Regions from separate parts of the Homo sapiens genome. Here region 2 is linked to region 1. The links are contacts of gene promoters, found by promoter capture Hi-C in blood cells and fetal thymus (Javierre and others, 2016). All regions are on one chromosome and are shown on one strand. The core of a region is centred on a gene start or on the middle of the fragment in contact, and the rest is flanking DNA. Distances in the headings are between cores, read along the strand shown.

Region 1 (2,771 bases), core at 210-2,709:
CCTCTGCCTCCCAGGGTTCAGGCGATTCTCCTGCCTCAACCTCCCGTGTAGCCAGCCCACCGCGCCTGGCTAATTTTTGTATTTTTGGTAGAGACGGGGTTTTGCCATGTTTGCCAGGCTGGTCTTGAACTCCTGACCTCAGGTGATCCACCTGCCTCAGCCTCCCAAAGTGCTGGGATTACGGGTGTGAGCCACGGCTCCCGGCCTTTAATACACACTTTAACAACCAGCTGACTGGGAGGGAAAAGTAAAGCGAGAGAAAGTTGAAAAATAAACTGTACATATTAATGTAAATGCATGTGAAAGTGTAAAATGCTGCCTCTTTCACAAAGGAAAATCTCACTGGAACTTAGTAATGATGCTGTTATGACCCACGTAAAACCCAAAGATAATTCAAAGTTACAAAAATGTAGAAAGAAAGATCTGGAGACTTAACGCACACCCACGGTGAATGTGGTCTATGAGTGTAAGCTCTGGATACCCCGATCCAACCAGATGCTGCAGTGGCCCGGAGAACATCATAAATATGAAGAAAGTGTATCCATGCCGGGGCTTCCATTTGTTTTTATAAGGCAATAAACATCATAAAGCCTAGCCGGGTGTGGTAGTGGGCACCTGTAATCCCAGCTACTCGGGCTGGAGGCTCCAGCTGGGGCTGGAGAATCGCTTGAACCCAGGAGGCAGAAGTTTCAGTGAGCTGAGATCGCACCACTGCACTCCAGCCTGGGCAACAAAGTGAGACTCTGTCTCAAAAAAAAAAAAAAAAAAAAAGAGGAAAAAAAAAAGTGCACGATTTCCATGCCTGCTTTAGACAGTGGCCCTCAAGTGTGGCTACACATTAGAATCCCCTAAGGAGTCTTAAGAAATCTTGATGTTTACACTGCACTATGGACCAAGGACATCAGAATCCCTGGGGTGGGACTGAGGCTGGCATTGGTCTTTTGTTACCGCTCCCCAGGGGACGGGGAATTCCAGTATTCATCAAGGTTGAGGATAACTGCATTGGAGGAAAGAAGCAGCTAACTACCTGGATCCTTAATTCCTATCTCTTCTTTTCCCAGGAGCCAACAGGAAAAAATGCACCAGGAGGGAAAGACAGGAAAGGAGGGACAAGAGAGGAAGGGGGGCTCCACACATCTGCAGCAGGAAAGGCTCGGATTGCACCACCCACCCCTGCCTGCTGCACACGAGGCTGGGAGCTACCTTGGACTTTGTGGTCGTGGTCATCCTGCAGGATTGTGATGGCAACTGTGTGGTTATTTTCCATCTCTAGGAGAGCAGCATCATGGCTGGCGGTGAGATCTTCCACCTGGAGGAGAGTCGCAGTTACTGGTTAGACAGAGAGCTGCTTGGAGAACAGAAGTGGAATTCCGTGAGTGGAAAAGGTCCGTGACCCAAAACATCAATGACAAGTCACAGCCTTGTGCCGAAGCAGGAGAGCTGGACTTTGGTGGTGATGTGGCAGCCCTCGGAATCACGGGGAGGTCACTGCCACAACCTGGCTCTTTGTAGGGGGGTCCAACTCCAGGCAGGGGATCACTGCCTGAGGTACCTCTTTAGAGTCCTGAGTGTGGCTCCTGGACCATCCCCTTCCCACTGCTTGTCCACGCGCTTGCACCGCTATGAGCGATGACGGCAAAGGAAAAGAAAAGCGTCCTCCCTACGAGGTGGTCTGTTTCCCAGTGGCAGGGGGAGCTACGGTACACAAGGTAAGTGGAGGGAACGAATACTTATTAGGCTGTCCGAGATAGGCTACTCTACTTAACCCTCAGAGCCACCTTATGAAGTATATCTTTTTATGCCCAATTGACAGATGTGGAAACTGAGGCTAAGAGAAATATGAAACGTTTTGCCCAAGGGCTAATAAATGGCAGAGCTAACAGTGAGACCCAGGTCTGTCTGACTCCAAAGGCGAGGCTCTTTCTAATGCACTGTTGTTTTGTGTTCACCTCCCCCAAGCAAGACTAGCAACGAACACCTTAGGATTCTCTCGCCAATACCAGGTGAGGCTGGCAGGTCTGTGTGTCTGTTTTTAAACATAAGGTTGCCCACCAGATTATAACTTGGACCTTCTGCTCAGGCAATGTGGTGCTCCTGGGAAGGGCTGCTGCCTCCCAGCTGCAGGAACACGTCTAGCAGTTTAATCGCAAGTAGTGCAGCCAGTCCAGTCCAGGATTCTTCATTTTCATGTTTCCTGACCCCCTCCCCTACCCCTCACCTGCCTGCCTACCAGGTTTACTGTTTTTGTTATTGTCATTGTGGCTGTTGTTTTAACTTCAAATGTATGACTTGCAGGAGTAATTGTCTAAAACGACCTCTCCCTATGATTGCAAATCTCTCCTGGATGCACTACAACGGTGTTTATCCAAATTCTCTGTCAGTGATCCACTGTAAAAATCACCATTGTACACAATATCACAGTGCACACACCCACACACAACCATACCCAAAACCAAAGTTTCACAAAAACAAAACTTCCCCTTCCATTTGGAAAAATCTGGTTTAAAAATGTTTCCTCTATTTTACTTTGTTTTACAAAACGCTAGTTAGAGGCCACTACATTTATTTCACAAGCTAATAATGCATCAAAACTTGGCATTTGAAAACCACTGAACTAGAAAATGTGCACTGGTCTTGAAGCTCCTTGGTGGCCCAGTTAAGAAGACATTGCTTCTAGCTGGTCATATTCAGCCACCTCTGGGCTCCCACATTTCTCTGGGGGAGAATTCACAGGCTAACCTTTGATCTGAATGGAGAAAGGGCTCTCCCCA
Region 2 (3,027 bases), core at 509-3,008, 260 kb before region 1:
CTGGCAAATTCCCCAGTTACTCTTGAAGATAACATCACCATTGTGAACCTAAGATTGGTCTGTTGAGATGTCTTTTCAGGTTTTTGCATTTCTGACAACTGGGTGTCCCCAGCCTGGACCTGCCAACCAGTCCTGTGGCCCCCATCAAGGAACTGACTCAGTGCAAGAGGACAGCTTTGACTCCCTGTGATTTCACCCCCAAGCCAACCAATCAGCACTCCCGACCCACTGGCCCTACCCACCAAATTATCCTTAAAAACTCTGATCCCTGAGTTTTCAGGGAGACTGACTTGAATAATAATAAAACTCCAGTCTCCCACACAGCCGGCTCCGCATAAATTACGCTTTCTTCACCACAAGTCCTTGTCTTGATAAATCGGCTCTGTCTAGACAGCGGGCAAGGTGAGCCCATTGGGCGGTCACAACATCACCCCTTCAGTTTTCTCATGACTATTGAGCTTACATAGTGTATCTTTTTTCGTTCTTTATTTTTAACCTATTTGTGTGTTTAAAGTATGTTTCTTATATACTGTGTATAGAAGGTTACTATTTTTACAAGAACTATTCAATCTCTACCTTTTAATTGGAGTGCTTTTACTATTTACTTTTTTTTTTTTTTTTTTGAGACAGTCTTGCTCTGTCAGGCTGGAGCACAGTGGTGTGATCTTGACTCACTGCAACCTCTGCCTCCCAGGTTCAAGCAATTCTCCTGCCTCAGCCTCCCGAGTAGCTGAGATTACAGACATGCACCACCACACCAGCTAATTTTCATATTTTTAGTAGAGATGGGGTTTCGCCAGGTTGTCCAGGCTGGTCTCGAATTCCTGGCCTCAAGCAATCCACCTGCCTCAGCCTCCCAAAGTGCTGGGTTTACAGGTGTGAGCCACCACGCCTAGCCTTTTTACTATTTACATTTAATGTAATTATGGACATATCAGTTTAATGTCTTGACATTGTGAAAACCAGTTGTGACAAACTAAAGATTGTCTCATCTGTTCCTTTTCTAGATCAAGTATTTTTCTTTTTTTAATTTATAAATGGAAAGCTTATATCAAAGTATTTTTAATTCTAACTCTACGATTGACTTAATAGCTATACCATTTCCTTTCTTTTAGTGGCTGTTCTAGGGCTTACAATATACATTTGAAGTTTTCACAGTCTACCTTCAATAACATCACACTATTTCACGTGTAATTCAAGACCTGAAAGCAGATTACTTCCACTTCTCCATATCTGTCTTTTGTGCTCTCATGCCATACATTTTGCCTTTGTATGTTATAAATCTCAGAACGTATAATCATTGTTTTAAACAGCCAGTTATCTTTTAAAGAAATAAAAAGATGACTTTTGAAAATGCTTTTATATTTGCCCACATATTTACCAGTTCTTAAACTCTACATTAGATATGACTATCCATTGGATGTCATTTTCTTTCAATCTTTTGCCTTTTAAAAATATCCTTCCTTGGAACCTTTTTTTTTTTTTTTTTACATAAGGCTATGTTGTTCTCAACATTTTTTAGTGTTGAAATAAAATCCAAATAATCAGAGAGCTCCTGGAATATATGATGTGATCAGAAGATGGAGCAGTAATTTAAAACTGATTTTAGGCTCTGTGTGACCCAACATTGTTGAAGGGCTGCCAAAAAGCAAGTTCTATCTCAGACTTTATTAACAGGACAATAAGTCTCAGGATATAAACAATAATGTTGTGCTCCAATTTCACTGATGACATGGAACGTTGTGTTCAGTTCTAGGTTCCACATTTCAAGGTGATTGACACATCTGAAGTATGTTCACAGATGACCGAGCAGGATCATGTAGGATCTAGAAATGGTGTCAGGGTGGGGCTGTCAGAGGAAGTGGATTTCAAATATTTGAAGGGCCGCTAGGTCAAAAGGCATCATACCTATTGAGAGTCGCTGCAGTGGTCAGAACAGAGCTAATGGGCAGAATTTGCAAGTAGACAAAATTTGATTCAGTTTGGCTCAGCACTGTGCAAAAAGGAAAGGAGCTATTTTTGATAGTGAGTTTCCATCGCAGGAGGTGTTCAAGCAGAAGCTGTCAGGAAGCAAAAATGCCCTGCCTAGTAGGGAGGAGAGAGAAGAGTCATGTATTGGACATAAGGATGAATTAGTTTACATCCAAGCACCTTTTCCAAATCTGATTCCATCCCTCCTTAATTTCTCTGTTAGTTCCTGCCTTTCTTCCTTTTGTCAGTGTTATTTTCCTGCCTATACACATTCCTATTTTCATCTTTAGGCAGCCCATCCCTTCCCTGCCATGTCCTTTCTAGTATGTTTTTCCTTGACAAGTCAGGATGATCTTGGGACTTGTACTTAATTACAAAGACTCCTTACATCATCAGTTTCTCCAAAGAACCACTTTCCTGTTGTAACTAAAGTGTGACCATCCCTTAGTATATTGTCTAAGCCAAGATTCCCTACAGAGTAGAGGCTTGGACAAAGCTTACATGCCAAGACTAGGGAAATATTGTGGAAAGAAGGTGTATATAAACCAGGCTCCATACAGAAGGCTGGGCTCCTTGTATTCCATGGCCTTACTTTATTCTCATTTTTCTCCAGTTTTGCTTACTCAACTTTAGAATATAGTTTTCTCAAAATAAGATTTCAAGGCAGTGATCATGGCTTGGGGCACTTTGTTTCCTATTTTTTTTAATTTTTTTTTTAGATGAAGTCTTGCTCTGTCACTCAGGCAGGAGTGCAGTGGTGCAATCTTGGCTCATTGCAACCTCCGCTTCCCGGGCTCAAGCAATTCTCCTGCCTCAGCCTTCCGAGTAGCTGGGATTACAGGCGCCCACCATCACGACTGGCTAATTTTTGTATTTTTAGTAGAGACAGGGTTTCACCATGTTGGTCAGGCTGGTCTCAAACTCCTGACCTCAGGTGATTTGCCCACCTCATCCTCCCAAAGTGTTGGGATTACAGGCGTGAGCCACCACGCCTGGCCAGTTTCCTACTTTTAGACGTGTTTTCCTAGTCAGCTGTGCTCACTCATCCTCAGTCCC

Evidence for each region. Contacts are between HindIII fragments. The CHiCAGO score rates a contact against its expected background, and 5 or more counts as called.
Region 2: a fragment that was not itself captured here is called in contact with the fragment with the promoter of MTUS2-AS1 in region 1 in 2 of 17 cell types (endothelial precursors and megakaryocytes); the score reaches 5.5 in endothelial precursors.

What each region holds. Positions count from the first base shown.
Region 1 is chr13:29,486,438-29,489,208 of GRCh38, reverse strand. MTUS2-AS1 (MTUS2 antisense RNA 1) reads left to right here and starts at 1,459. Exons shown (of 3, transcript NR_046378.1): 1 at 1,459-1,709. It overlaps MTUS2 (microtubule associated scaffold protein 2), which reads right to left. Exons shown (of 16, transcript NM_001033602.4): 11 at 1,204-1,309. The HindIII fragment of the contact is 24,751 bases long and covers 1-2,771 here.
Region 2 is chr13:29,751,137-29,754,163 of GRCh38, reverse strand. No RefSeq gene overlaps it. Among named protein-coding and RNA genes, the nearest start is that of UBL3, 98 kb to the left of the region's middle. The HindIII fragment of the contact is 1,422 bases long and covers 1,048-2,469 here.